Regions from separate parts of the Homo sapiens genome. Here all the other regions are linked to region 4. Evidence: promoter capture Hi-C in human tissues and cell types (Jung and others, 2019). All regions are on one chromosome and are shown on one strand. The core of a region is centred on a gene start or on the middle of the fragment in contact, and the rest is flanking DNA. Distances in the headings are between cores, read along the strand shown. Region 1 overlaps NUMB (NUMB endocytic adaptor protein). Region 2 overlaps PSEN1 (presenilin 1). Region 3 overlaps PSEN1 (presenilin 1). Region 4 holds the start of DNAL1 (dynein axonemal light chain 1).

Evidence for each region. Contacts are between HindIII fragments. The study calls those that stand out against the background at their distance.
Region 1: a contact is called between a fragment that was not itself captured here and the fragment with the promoter of DNAL1 in region 4, in 1 of the 25 tissues and cell types used here (dorsolateral prefrontal cortex).
Region 2: a fragment that was not itself captured here is called in contact with the fragment with the promoter of DNAL1 in region 4 in 1 of the 25 tissues and cell types used here (lymphoblastoid cells).
Region 3: a contact is called between a fragment that was not itself captured here and the fragment with the promoter of DNAL1 in region 4, in 2 of the 25 tissues and cell types used here (IMR-90 fibroblasts and lymphoblastoid cells).

Annotation. Positions count from the first base shown.
Region 1 is chr14:73,316,955-73,320,523 of GRCh38, forward strand. The region is part of intron 5 of NUMB (NUMB endocytic adaptor protein); the gene reads right to left. Among named protein-coding and RNA genes, the nearest start is that of PAPLN-AS1, 73 kb to the left of the region's middle. The HindIII fragment of the contact is 4,846 bases long and covers 1-3,569 here.
Region 2 is chr14:73,219,361-73,223,151 of GRCh38, forward strand. PSEN1 (presenilin 1) reads left to right here. Exons shown (of 12, transcript NM_000021.4): 12 at 1-3,791. Among named protein-coding and RNA genes, the nearest start is that of PAPLN, 16 kb to the right of the region's middle. RefSeq lists an enhancer at 3,575-3,791. The HindIII fragment of the contact is 9,247 bases long and covers 1-3,791 here.
Region 3 is chr14:73,140,080-73,143,766 of GRCh38, forward strand. All of the region lies in intron 1 of PSEN1 (presenilin 1), which reads left to right. Among named protein-coding and RNA genes, the nearest start is that of PSEN1, 5.4 kb to the left of the region's middle. The HindIII fragment of the contact is 5,314 bases long and covers 1-3,687 here.
Region 4 is chr14:73,643,692-73,647,502 of GRCh38, forward strand. DNAL1 (dynein axonemal light chain 1) reads left to right here and starts at 1,295. Exons shown (of 8, transcript NM_031427.4): 1 at 1,295-1,351. The coding sequence starts at 1,349. The HindIII fragment of the contact is 10,054 bases long and covers 48-3,811 here.

The DNA.
Region 1 (3,569 bases), core at 240-2,739, 330 kb before region 4:
AAGGTCCTTGTCATACTTTTTTCTTAGTGAGTTCAAGATGTCACTTAGAAACTCCATACCACTTAAGGGGAGCTTGACCATTGGCTTTCCATTTACTTACATTAGTATCAATCTATATGTACAGGTGTGCTGATCAATTTCACAACACACATAAGGAAATAACATGTATGTTTTATTCCAGACACAGAATAAATTATCTATTAAGGTTACAAGGCTAATGTTTATACAAGAGCTGAGAAAACAAGTATCCTAAGAACCAAATGATGTCTGTGGGCCACAACTGAAATTTAAGAAACAGGGTTTTGTTTTCTTTATAAAAGCTATTGCTTATTATTATTTGGTTTTTGTTTGTTTGTTTGTTTGTTGAGTCAGAGTCTCACTCTGTCACTCAGGATGGAGTGCAGTGGCACGATCTCAGGTCACTGCAACCTCTGCCTCCTGGGTTCAAGCAATGCTCATGCCTCGGCCTCCCGAGTAGCTAGGACTACAGGTGTGCGCCACCACATCCAGCTAATTTTTGTATTTTTAGTAGAGACAGGGTTTCACCGTGTTGGCCAGGCTGGTCTCGAACTCCTGACCTCAAGTGATCCACCTGCCTAAGCCTCCTAAAGTGCTGGAATTACAGACATGGGCCACTGCGCCCAACCTAAAAGCTGTTATTTTAAAATAAAGAAACTTGCATTGACATTTATAAGGAAACAATTCTGAAACTATCTGGATAACAGAGGCATAACTATCTATGCTATCAGCACCAATTTTTAAGCACCATTTATGAAAACTGGCCACCAATTAAAATCTGTAGAATTTACACAAATTAGATGGGTTTGAACTCACACAAGCTAGATTTAACTTTACATTTCCTAGCTGTGGTTGAAATATACTTTAAGCCTTTACTTTTTATAATCATAGGTTTTTAATGTTGGATAAATGTCTAGGAAAAGATAATTGCATTGAAATCTGACTCTTTTACACAATTCATAAACTATTCAGTGCTCTCCAACACTGGAAAGTTTGTTTTCCCCTCTAAGCTTTGAAAATCACAAACAGCAAAAAATATTTCCACAAAACATTTTGAACTGCAACTGGAAAAATAATAAAGTAATTGGGTAGTTATCACAGTAAGACTAGATTATTTCTGCTGCCAAGTTTGGTGACCCTAGTTTTGTTAGACTATGAATAACCATAAGCTTTCAAGGATGCGGCCAAAGTTAAGATATTCACCATTCTTGAGGGATGGGAAGGTGAAGGAAGGAGATTGTTAATATTTAATTTAGCTCCTAGAAAAGCTACTGTTAAACATTGAGCTTTCCCTCTTTTTATAAAATACCCAAGATGTTAATGAAAAAAGTTGGCATGCAAAATGCATAAAAAGACAGTTATTAAAGAATAATAATGTTCTTTTAAAAACATTTGTTATGATTCTTTTACCTGCTAAAACAAGAACATATATTAAAACAAATATATCAAATAGTGAATAAAAAACCAACATATTAGAAACTGGTAGTATAATGAAACTAGTCTAAAACTAAGACAGAGGGAGAGACATTTAAGAAACAATGGGAAGAAATGACCTTAAACGAAGGGCATCTTGGACTAGAGTTAAGCAAGATAACCAAAGGCCTTATACACTTTTTTATGGAATTGGCTGATATATGACAATATTCCTCACCCTGTAGCTGATATGCCATAAAGGCAGTAACAATGGGCAATAGTGATTTCTGTCATTTATCCTATAGAAGCTAAGTCCCAAAGTAGCTAATCAGTGAGGTTATATGACAAAGTAAATGAGTTGAAAATAGCTGTCAATAACTTTATGCCCAGAAAGTTAAAAAATTAACATATTTATGCTCTGAGGAGCATATTTTTAAAACACTATCTTGTTTAGTTATAATATTTTTTTCATTTGAGCATATCAAGTATGCAGATGACTTCCAATTGAAGTTAATGTAATTCTAAATTGTAAGAGAGTATTTTGGTGAAAAACACTTGCAAATTATCTCTTTCCTCAATTGTTCACAAATTTAAAAAGCGCTAGAAGGCTGGGCGCAGTGGCTCATGCCTGTAATCCCAGCACTTTGGGAGGCCCAGGCTGGTGGATCACCTAAGGTCAGGAGTTGGAGATCAGCCTGGCCAACATGGTGAAACCCCGTCTCATACAATTAGCTGAGTGTGGTGGTGGGCGCCTGTAATCCCAGCTACTCTGGAGGCTGAGGCAGGAGAATCGCGTGAACCCGGGAGGCGGAGGTTGCAGCGACCCAAGATCGTGCCACTGCACTCCAGCCTGGGTGACAGAGCGAAACTCCACTCCAAAAAAAATGAATAAATAAAAAGCACCAGAAATATTACATTTTTAGTTCAAAGATTATTCACTAGATGTGTTGGTGGTACAGTGATGAGCATAGCTGCCTTCCAAAGATCATTCACATGGTAGGTTTAAAATGCTTGTTTTGTTACTTAACTGGTACATCTGAGCTATTCTTTAAAATTTTAAACTCTGGCATTCAAACTAATTTCAAAGATATCCTATTTCTTCTTTAATCCTCTGCAGGCTTATGCATCCTTATATTTGCTCCCACTTATTTGAAACTCTAAAAGGAAGCTTTATAATCTATAAAAAAAACAAACAAAAAGTCTCCAGAAACATAGCATTTGGCACAATATAAGTATCTGGCAAAGTAGGTTGTAGATCCCCAGTGGATGATTTTTAGATGAATGTTTGCTCAGAGAAATCAAAAGGCAACGAGAAATTTCTGCATAGTAAAAATATGAAAAGAAGACAAAAATCAGGAATACATGTGGCACACTATGATATGAGAAGAACAGTATCCTAAAGACTTCCGATTTTCTGCAAGATTCTCAGTATAGCTCTAGAAAGAGTATTTAAAAGAAAGGGGAGGCCAGGTGCAGCAGCTCATGCCTGTAATCCCAGCACTTTGGGAGACTGAGGTGGGTGGATCACGAGGTCATGAATTCAAGACCACCCTGGCCAACACGGTGAAACTCTGTCTCTACTAAAAATACAAAAAAACTAGCCAGGTGTGGTGGCGGGCACCTGTAATCCCAGCTACTCGGGAGGCTGAGGCAGGAGAATTGCTTGAACCTGGGAGGCAGAGGTTGCAGTGAGCCAAGATCACACCACTGCACTCCAACCTGGGTGACAGAGCAAGACTCCGACTCGGCGGGGGGGCAAAAAAAGAATGGGGATGTTTCACTGAGCATAAGAAACAGGAAATTTACTCCAGTGACCCAAAACTTCAATTTCATGTTTTAATAATACATGCCAGTGCAAAACTACATATAACATTTGCTCCAAATCTAGTTTTTGTCTGAAAAATTTTAAATAACTTCTTGATAAGAAGTCTAGAAATGGTCAATTTCCCCTCAAAGTTTAAAAGTTTAAGTATGTTTAGAAAACAATCACCAACATATCTAAAACTTTCTTTTTTATTATTTATTTTTATAGAGACAGGGTCTCACTATGTTACCCAGGCTGGTCTTGAACTCCTGGCTTTAAGCAATCCTCCCATCTCAGACTTCTAAGTAGCTGAGATTATAGGCGCAAGCTACTG
Region 2 (3,791 bases), core at 1,132-3,631, 420 kb before region 4:
TTTTCCTGTGTCCACATCTAACAAAGTCAAGATTCCCGGCTGGACTTTTGCAGCTTCCTTCCAAGTCTTCCTGACCACCTTGCACTATTGGACTTTGGAAGGAGGTGCCTATAGAAAACGATTTTGAACATACTTCATCGCAGTGGACTGTGTCCCTCGGTGCAGAAACTACCAGATTTGAGGGACGAGGTCAAGGAGATATGATAGGCCCGGAAGTTGCTGTGCCCCATCAGCAGCTTGACGCGTGGTCACAGGACGATTTCACTGACACTGCGAACTCTCAGGACTACCGTTACCAAGAGGTTAGGTGAAGTGGTTTAAACCAAACGGAACTCTTCATCTTAAACTACACGTTGAAAATCAACCCAATAATTCTGTATTAACTGAATTCTGAACTTTTCAGGAGGTACTGTGAGGAAGAGCAGGCACCAGCAGCAGAATGGGGAATGGAGAGGTGGGCAGGGGTTCCAGCTTCCCTTTGATTTTTTGCTGCAGACTCATCCTTTTTAAATGAGACTTGTTTTCCCCTCTCTTTGAGTCAAGTCAAATATGTAGATTGCCTTTGGCAATTCTTCTTCTCAAGCACTGACACTCATTACCGTCTGTGATTGCCATTTCTTCCCAAGGCCAGTCTGAACCTGAGGTTGCTTTATCCTAAAAGTTTTAACCTCAGGTTCCAAATTCAGTAAATTTTGGAAACAGTACAGCTATTTCTCATCAATTCTCTATCATGTTGAAGTCAAATTTGGATTTTCCACCAAATTCTGAATTTGTAGACATACTTGTACGCTCACTTGCCCCAGATGCCTCCTCTGTCCTCATTCTTCTCTCCCACACAAGCAGTCTTTTTCTACAGCCAGTAAGGCAGCTCTGTCGTGGTAGCAGATGGTCCCATTATTCTAGGGTCTTACTCTTTGTATGATGAAAAGAATGTGTTATGAATCGGTGCTGTCAGCCCTGCTGTCAGACCTTCTTCCACAGCAAATGAGATGTATGCCCAAAGACGGTAGAATTAAAGAAGAGTAAAATGGCTGTTGAAGCACTTTCTGTCCTGGTATTTTGTTTTTGCTTTTGCCACACAGTAGCTCAGAATTTGAACAAATAGCCAAAAGCTGGTGGTTGATGAATTATGAACTAGTTGTATCAACACAAAGCAAGAGTTGGGGAAAGCCATATTTAACTTGGTGAGCTGTGGGAGAACCTGGTGGCAGAAGGAGAACCAACTGCCAAGGGGAAAGAGAAGGGGCCTCCAGCAGCGAAGGGGATACAGTGAGCTAATGATGTCAAGGAGGAGTTTCAGGTTATTCTCGTCAGCTCCACAAATGGGTGCTTTGTGGTCTCTGCCCGCGTTACCTTTCCTCTCAATGTACCTTTGTGTGAACTGGGCAGTGGAGGTGCCTGCTGCAGTTACCATGGAGTTCAGGCTCTGGGCAGCTCAGTCAGGCAAAACACACAAACAGCCATCAGCCTGTGTGGGCTCAGGGCACCTCTGGACAAAGGCTTGTGGGGCATAACCTTCTTTACCACAGAGAGCCCTTAGCTATGCTGATCAGACCGTAAGCGTTTATGAGAAACTTAGTTTCCTCCTGTGGCTGAGGAGGGGCCAGCTTTTTCTTCTTTTGCCTGCTGTTTTCTCTCCCAATCTATGATATGATATGACCTGGTTTGGGGCTGTCTTTGGTGTTTAGAATATTTGTTTTCTGTCCCAGGATATTTCTTATAAGAACCTAACTTCAAGAGTAGTGTGCGAGTACTGATCTGAATTTAAATTAAAATTGGCTTATATTAGGCAGTCACAGACAGGAAAAATAAGAGCTATGCAAAGAAAGGGGGATTTAAAGTAGTAGGTTCTATCATCTCAATTCATTTTTTTCCATGAAATCCCTTCTTCCAAGATTCATTCCCTCTCTCAGACATGTGCTAGCATGGGTATTATCATTGAGAAAGCACAGCTACAGCAAAGCCACCTGAATAGCAATTTGTGATTGGAAGCATTCTTGAGGGATCCCTAATCTAGAGTAATTTATTTGTGTAAGGATCCCAAATGTGTTGCACCTTTCATGATACATTTCTTCTCTGAAGAGGGTACGTGGGGTGTGTGTATTTAAATCCATCCTATGTATTACTGATTGTCCTGTGTAGAAAGATGGCAATTATTCTGTCTCTTTCTCCAAGTTTGAGCCACATCTCAGCCACATTGTTAGACAGTGTACAGAGAACCTATCTTTCCTTTTTTTTTTTTTAAAGGACAGGATTTTGCTGTGTTGCCCAGGCTAGACTTGAACTCCTGGGCTCAAGTAATCCACCTCAGCCTGAGTAGCTGAGACTACAGCCCATCTTATTTCTTTAAATCATTCATCTCAGGCAGAGAACTTTTCCCTCAAACATTCTTTTTAGAATTAGTTCAGTCATTCCTAAAACATCCAAATGCTAGTCTTCCACCATGAAAAATAGATTGTCACTGGAAAGAACAGTAGCAATTTCCATAAGGATGTGCCTTCACTCACACGGGACAGGCGGTGGTTATAGAGTCGGGCAAAACCAGCAGTAGAGTATGACCAGCCAAGCCAATCTGCTTAATAAAAAGATGGAAGACAGTAAGGAAGGAAAGTAGCCACTAAGAGTCTGAGTCTGACTGGGCTACAGAATAAAGGGTATTTATGGACAGAATGTCATTACATGCCTATGGGAATACCAATCATATTTGGAAGATTTGCAGATTTTTTTTCAGAGAGGAAAGACTCACCTTCCTGTTTTTGGTTCTCAGTAGGTTCGTGTGTGTTCCTAGAATCACAGCTCTGACTCCAAATGACTCAATTTCTCAATTAGAAAAAGTAGAAGCTTTCTAAGCAACTTGGAAGAAAACAGTCATAAGTAAGCAATTTGTTGATTTTACTACAGAAGCAACAACTGAAGAGGCAGTGTTTTTACTTTCAGACTCCGGGATTCCCATTCTGTAGTCTCTCTGCTTTTAAAAACCCTCCTTTTGCAATAGATGCCCAAACAGATGATGTTTATTACTTGTTATTTACGTGGCCTCAGACAGTGTATGTATTCTCGATATAACTTGTAGAGTGTGAAATATAAGTTTAACTACCAAATAAGGTCTCCCAGGGTTAGATGACTGCGGGAAGCCTTTGATCCCAACCCCCAAGGCTTTGTATATTTGATCATTTGTGATCTAACCCTGGAAGAAAAAGAGCTCAGAAACCACTATGAAAAAATTTGTTCAGTGTTTTCTGTGTTCCCGTAGGTTCTGGAGTCTGAGGATGCAAAGATGAATAAGATAAATTCTCAGAATGTAGTTATAATCTCTTGTTTTCTGGTATATGCCATCTTTCTTTAACTTCTCTAAAATATTGGGTATTTGTCAAATAACCACTTTTAACAGTTACCATTACTGAGGGCTTATACATTGGTGTTATAAAAGTGACTTGATTCAGAAATCAATCCATTCAGTAAAGTACTCCTTCTCTAAATTTGCTGTTATGTCTATAAGGAACAGTTTGACCTGCCCTTCTCCTCACCTCCTCACCTGCCTTCCAACATTGAATTTGGAAGGAGACGTGAAAATTGGACATTTGGTTTTGCCCTTGGGCTGGAAACTATCATATAATCATAAGTTTGAGCCTAGAAGTGATCCTTGTGATCTTCTCACCTCTTTAAATTCCCACAACACAAGAGATTAAAAACAGAGGTTTCAGCTCTTCATAGTGCGTTGTGAAATGGCTGGCCAGAGTGTACCAACAAAGCTGTCATCGGGCTCACAGCTCAGAGACATCTGCATGTGA
Region 3 (3,687 bases), core at 679-3,178, 500 kb before region 4:
ATTGAAATTAAATAACTTATTGGGAAAGATTCTTTATAATTATACAAAGGTATATAGGACCATAGTCTCATATCCAGAGTTCTGAAATCCGAAAACTAAAAGGTTTTTCTTTTTTTGCTATTCTTTTTTTTTTTTTTTTTTTTTTTTTTGAGACAGAGTCTCCCTCTGTCGCCCAGGCTGGAGTGCAGTGGCACAATCTCAGCTCACTGCAACGTCCGCCTCCCAGGTTCAAGTGATTCTTCTGCCTCAGCCTCCCGAGTAGCTGGGACTACAGGCGTGTGCCACCACACTGGGCTAATTTTTGTATTTTTAGTAGAGGTGGGGTGTCACCATATTGGCCAGGCTGGTCTCGAACTCCTGACCTCGTGATCCACCCGCCTCAGCCTCCCAAAGTGCTGGGATTACAGGTGCGAGCCACTGCACCTGGCCAAGGTTTTTTATAACTAATTTAACAGCAAAATCTGGCCTAGTTATCGTCTTTATTTTCTTTTTTTAATGTGATTTAAAACTATTCATTTGTTTCACTATAGCTTAATAATTTGTTTGCTTTTCTGCTTCTAAGACCCTGTAGGGGCATTATATAACTTCTGGCATTTGCATAGTACCTTTACAAAATCCAAAAAAATCTGAATTCTAAACACATTTAGTCCTAAAAGTTACAGATAAGGGATTCTGGACTTGCGATTCTAAGTCTTTGTTCGTTTTTATTGCATTTTCTGAGCCAACATAACCATTATTTAAAAACAAGTTGCTATAGTAACTCTACATTACAGACCTCCCCCAAACTCAGCAGTTCAGAGCATGTATTCTCACTCAGGGCTCTGCTTCCTTGTAGGTAGATGTGTGGATCGGTGAGGGCAGTTCTTATTTGTATGCCTTATTCTGGGGCCCAGGCTGAAGGGGCAGTGGCTATCCATGATAAGCTTTTCTCAAGGCACCAGCAGAAGTACAAGAAGTCAAGGCCAACTGCATAAGCATAGTTCAAATGTCTGGTTATGCCACATCTGCTAAGATTGCATTGACCAAAGCAAGTCACATGATCATGCCCAAAGACTTAGGAGTGGGTAGTAGACTGCAACCACCATGCAGCCAAGCAAACTACAGAGCCAAGCCTATAACATCACTGGAGAGAGGTGTATTCCTCCCTTGGCCAGGCTGGGGGAGGGAGTGAATATTGGCTGAATAATAATCTAATCTACCACAGATGGTTAACAGAGGTGGAGTGGGATGGAAGGAGAAAAAAAAAAAATCACCAAATGGGATGTATCACTACCCTTGCTCTTTTTAGCGTCTGCTGCTTTCACAAAGCCTTTTATAGGGCTGGAGAAATGATTTGCTCCTAGTCTCTTAAAAACCAGAGGAGTCTTTTGAGGATGTATTCCTAAAGTTTTTAAATTAGTTTAAAAATTTTTTTTATTAATTTCAATTATAGGCTGAGCACAGTGGCTCACGCCTGTAATCCCAGCTAAGGTGGTGGATCACCTGAGGTCAGGAGTTCGAGACCAGCCTGGCCAACATGCTAAATGAAACCCCCATCTCTACTAAAAATACAAAAATTAGCTGGGCATGGTGGTGGGCGTCTGTAATCCTAGCTACTCAGGAGGCTGAGGCAGGAGAATTGCTTGAACCCAGGAGGTGGAAGTTGCAGTGAGCCATGATCGTGGCATTGCATTCCAGCCTGGGCGACAAGAGTGAAACTACATCTTGGCCGGGTGCCGTGGCTCACGCCTGTAATCCCAGCACTTTGGGAGGCAGAGGCTGGCAGATCACGAGGTCAGGAGATCGAGACCATCCTGGCTAACACAGTGAAACCCCGTCTCTACTAAAAATACAAAAAATTAGCCAGGCGTGGTGGCGGGCACCTGTAGTCCCAGCTACTTGGGAGGCTGAGGCAGGAGAATGGCCTGAACCTGGGAGGCGGAGCTTGCAGTGAGCTGAGATTGTGCCACTGCACTCCAGCCTGGGCGACAGAGGGAGACTCCGTCTCAAAAAAAAAAAAAAGAAAAGAAACTACATCTCAATAATAATAATAATTTCAATTATAGGTTGGAATTTAGAGTTCGGTTACATTTACTATTGGATGTGATCCTTTAAAAACTCAAGTAGAGGCTTTTCCAGCCCATTCATAACATTAGAAGTTGGGCCGCCTGTCCAGGGAGAAGCTTTCAAAGTAACACTGAGGCTGATTAAATACTTTTGTAAAATAAAGAATAAATCACAAGCTCATTGGCACTTGAAACTTAGCATTGCAGTGCAGATGCAGCAGAAAATACTTGTAGCAGTTTTCTCAGTGAAAGAGAAACTAGTCAAGTAGCTTAGAGACATTAAAACAAGCCACAAGCCCTTTGTGCTAGAGATCATGGTTAAAAGTCCCCTGAAGATGTTTTTCCACAGTAGAAATTTTGTTTATATTTATGTCTGAGAGTGAAAAAAGAAAATGGAATCAATAAGTAACCATGTTCTGCAGGAGTTTGAGGTTTTGTTGTTACATTGGGATGTAGTGAGAGAAGAAAACGTATTAATTCTTTTCTGTTGGTACTTTCTTGAATTACATTTTTAATAAACTTATTGTGAGATTCTGAACATTGCTCCTGTGATAATTTCTGAAGTGCTGATGAGTAGAAGGTTTTCTGGTTAGACTTCTGTTCAGCACATCTGAGCTTCGAGATTATTTGTAGTTCTCCTGGGGCTTTTAAAATCTCTTTGTATATAATAGATAAATGCTAGTTTCCCATCAGAGAAGGATTTCTTTTTCCTTTTGTCTGATTGAGCAAGTGTCTTGAGATTAAGAAAATGGATGTCAGTGAATTCAAGTGTTGTGCTCTGTCAGTTTGCAGCAGGTGACCAGAGAGCAAAAACACCAGAGTAGATTCTGTCCCTACTCCCACCTACTCCTCAATTCGGGTCCCATGAAAGATCCTCAGATCTGGGTAACTGTTGTTGTTTTTGTTGTTCACAGGGCTAAGAATGTTCATGGCTAAGAATGTTAAAAAGTCTCCTAGTGTCTTTTGCCACGCTGCCTGAACAGTGGGGTCATTGACCGCCATGCAATCCTCAATTGTTTTCAGCTGATACTGGACCGAAATCAAATCTAGCTTTGCCTGCCCCTTTCTTTGTACCAGTAGCGCTTGTTTGTTCACCAGGCCTGACTGAAGACCTAGCCCTGTTGCCTGCCTCTGCTTCCTACCGAGCCCCCTGTAAAGAGCAGCTCTCCCAGGGAGGCTCACCTTGTAGCATTGTGATCTTTGGAAGCATCAAGGGAGGCACAAGATTTCTCTGGGTGAACTGGAAAAGACTTGGGCTGGGCATCAGAAGACTTGGGTTCTGCAACTGGCATTGTTTACACTCTCTCTGTAACTCTGTGCAGGCAAAATCTTTCACCTTTTCTGAGTTTTTTTTTACATGTCAGTACAGATTCCTTTCCTCATGAGGTTTCTTTAAGACTCAAATGGAAGAATAGATGTGAAAAGAACTTTGAAGATAGTATTGGAAAATGCTAAAGTGACTGCTGTGTTATTGATGATTTTTATGGGATTTGTCTGAGAAAGCTCCAGTGTGACCAGTTTGTACCAGCTTGTATGGTTTCTTGTAATAACCGAACAGATCCTGTTAGCATAGGGTAAAAATGGAAACTACTTCTTTTAAAATGACCAGTGGCTGCAGTGGCTCAGGCCTGTAATCCTGGCT
Region 4 (3,811 bases), core at 45-2,544:
TGAACAAACTGCACCAGGCCACTATGTATAATTTTAAAGGAAAATCGTACCAACTATTTTGTTTGGTAACTTCTATTTTTACTTGAAATATGACTATCTTTGGATGTGAATAGATGCCTTTCAGCAAGTCAATTGTACTTTTTTAGTGTAAGTACATTATTGCATTGGATGTTCAATACTACTAACCAATTTTCTCTCTCTTTTTGTTTGTTTGTTTGTTTGTTTTGAGACGGAGTGTCACTCTTGTTGCCCAGACTGGAGTGCAATGGCGCGATCTCGGCTCACTGCAACCTCCGCCTCCCGGGTTCAAGCAATTCTCGTGCCTCAGGCTCCGGAATTGCTGGGACTACAGGCGCGTGCCACCACACCCGGCTAATTTTTGTATTTTTAGTAGAGACGGGGTTTCACCATGTTGGCCAGGCTGGGCTCAAGTGGTCAAGTGGTCCGCCCTCCTCAGCCTCCTAAAGTGCTAGGATTACAGGCGTGAGCCACCAGTCCCGGCCACCAATTCTCTTTTGTTGATAATTGAGTTGATTTTTTTTTTTCTATTAAAGCTTTGAACATACATCTCTGTGCTCAGGATAAAGTCCTGGAAGTGGAACTGCTGGATCACAAAGGGTGCAAAAGTTTTTGAACAGCCAACAGCCTTCCAGAAAGGCTGTATCAATTATAAACAGCAGCGTATTTGTGTGTCCCTACTTCACCATACCCCTAGCAACTCTATGAATTATTATTATTGTTAATAATTTTTAGCTCATTTGGTAGGTGGGGAAAAAAAGACACCCTGGTGATTAAAACCAACAATTTGTGATATTTAAAATGTGGAACCGAGCTTTCAGCTGCCTCTGGCTCCCTGGAGGATCCGGGGTAAAGAAACATAAAATGGGTGGAGTTTGGCTCTGGTATTCTCAGTGGGATGGGATGGAGAGGGAAATTACAGCAAGCCGCTTATTCTCCCCTCGTCCGGAAAAGGGTGGGAAACGCCATCGTTAGGGCAAAGGAATTAAGAACATTATTTTATGAAAAGGGTAGTTGTTAGGGGGACGTTTTAAGGTTTTTAACTTTAGGCGGACAAGTCACTACAGATCAGCTGAAATTGCTTTCGGTCCTGACTACTCCTGTGCGGGGTTAAGACCTAAGGAAGCAAAAGGGCAGCCAGCAACAGCCGGACGGGAGGACCCCGGCGGCCGCCACGCAGTCCCACAATGCCCCGCTCGCACCACCCTGAGGGCGGAGAGAAAGGACCGCTGCCGGGGATAGGGCTTCCGCCGAGAGCGCCGAGAAGTGCGCACGCGCACTGACCCCGCGGGCCCTAGCAACCAGAGCAGTGACAGTAGCAACCGCCGGAATGGTGAGTACCTTTCGGGCCGCGTAGCCAAAGCTGAGAGAAGATTGGGAGTGGAAAAGGGTGACTGTGGAGTGTTGAGGGTCTGGGGGTCCTTGAACAGCGGAAGGGAGCCGGTAGCTGACGCTAGCTCTGTGGAGTCAGGGGCCCGAGGCGAAAGAGAAGCCCTGGCCGGGGGTGGTCTGTGGTGAGGGCGGCCTGGGGTGGATCGGAGGTTGGGTTAAGGTGGAGGGACTCAGACAGGAGAAAAGGGAGGGCGAAGAGCAGGAAATTCTCTAAAAAGAGCGTATTGGAGTGGGAAGGGTGATGGGAAGGAGAGTGTAGATAAAGATATCTCTTTACATAGAAGTAATTTTAGTGACCCCCCCGTCGAGATGCAGGGAGGGGCTGGTTACCAGAGGGTTCTGTATAACACGGATTGCAGCAGTTTTCGTAACCTGTGATGTACCCAGGTTGCCTTCTGAATGACTACGAGGGCAGTTATTAGGTGACACTGTAAAGCACACTCTGATGGATATATTAGAGCAGTGATTCTCAAATTTCAGTATGCATAGGTATGGGCTTGTTGGAATGCAGATTGTGAATTTTTAATATGATTGGGGGTTTCAGGAATGTGCATTTCGACAACACACCTCAAGTGATTATAAAATTGGAGGGCATCCCACCACACTGAGAAATGCTGTTGCCTTAGGTTTGAAATCTACCAGCTGTCTATCCAATGAGAGCTCTTTATGAAGTAATGGTTTTACCTAGAGATGCTCCTCAACTCTTACTTGATGTGTTCACTCTCTTGCTTACATACTTGGTAGTTCTAACTAGTCGTTTGAAAAGGATTGCAGACCCAGCCAGAGCTATTGAGCAAAGTATGTGATGTCCTACTGGATAGAGATGTTTATGAAGAAGAAGCATAATTACTTGTCTTCTTTTTGTGATTCCAGTGCTATATAAGTGGGCAGAAATTGAGCCCAGGAGATGGAAATGATGAGGAAGTCATGCCTGCCCTCAACAAGATGAAATACCACTCTTTAAAAAGTAGTTTCCCCCCTGCTTTCCTTACTTTGTTCCCCAAGCAGTTAGCTGAAAATCACTGCCAAGGAAAGTTAAAAGTTCTGGAACCTAGGTTTATATTCAGGTGAAGAAAGGCTCAGACCTAAATATTTATGAAAGTATGAACCATGGTGATTGTTGAAAATCTTCAAATAGAGAATCAGAACCAGTACAGTTATAAGTCACTTAATGATGACAGGGATACATTCTAACAAACACATTATTGGCAGTTTTGCCTTGCAAACATCATAGAATATGCTTACAAAAACCAGATGGTGTAGGCTATTGCTCCTAGGCTACAAAGTTTTACAGCATTTTACTATACTGAATACTGTAGGCAGTTGAAACAAGGTATTTGTGTATTTAAACATAGAAAAGCGGCCAGGGTGTGGTGGCTCACACCTGTAATCCCAGAGGCCTGTAATCCCAGCACTTTGTGAGGCCGAGGCGGGCAGATCACCTGAGGTCAGGAGTTCAAGATCCACCTGGCCAACATGGTGAAACTCCGCCTCTACTAAAAATACAAAGATTAGCGGGGCATGGTGGCGAGTGGCTGTAATCCCAGCTACTCAGGAGGCTGAGGCATGAGAATCTCTTGAACCTGGGAGGTGGAGGTTGCAGTGAGCTGAGATCGCACCACTGCACTCCAGCCTGAGCAACAGAGCAAGACCCTGTCTCAAATAAACAAACAAACAAACATAGAAAAGTTACAGTATTACAATCTTATGTAACCACTGTCTTATATGTGGTTGGTTGTTAACTGAAACTTGTTATGCAGCTCATGACTGTATTTAGAACTGGCTTAGTCTGCAAACTAGCAGACCTGGGTCCCTCCAGAAATATTGACCCACATAGTATTTCAATTTAAAAAAATTTATCTTTCAGTGTCTTTTTTTCCCCCTTATGACCTGCCACTTCAGGACAATGTCTTCAAATGATGATATTTCACATTAAAACCAAGATTTCCAATTTCTCTTGAAAAATAAATATTGGGGCAGGGCACGGTGGCTCACACCTTTAATTCCAGCACTTTGGTAGGCCGAGGTGGGCGGATCACGAGGTCAGAAGATCGAGACCATCCTGGCTATCATGGTGAAACCCCATCACTACTAAAAATAGAAAAAAAAAGAAATTAGCCAGGCGTGGTGGTAGGCGCCTATAGTCCTAGCTACTCGGGAGGCTGAGGCAGGAGAATGGCGTGAACCCGGGAGGCGGAGCTTGCAGTGAGCTGAGATTGAGCCACTGCACTCCAGCCTGGGCGACAGAGCAAGACTCTGTCTCAAAAAAAAAAAAAAAAAGAAAAAGAAAAAGAAAAAGAAATATGTTTCACCATTGGACACTTTTTTTCACATTTTCGTATTACTGAGATATAGTGTGTTATAACTGGCAGCATCTTTTCTTACTTAATGATACATAAAA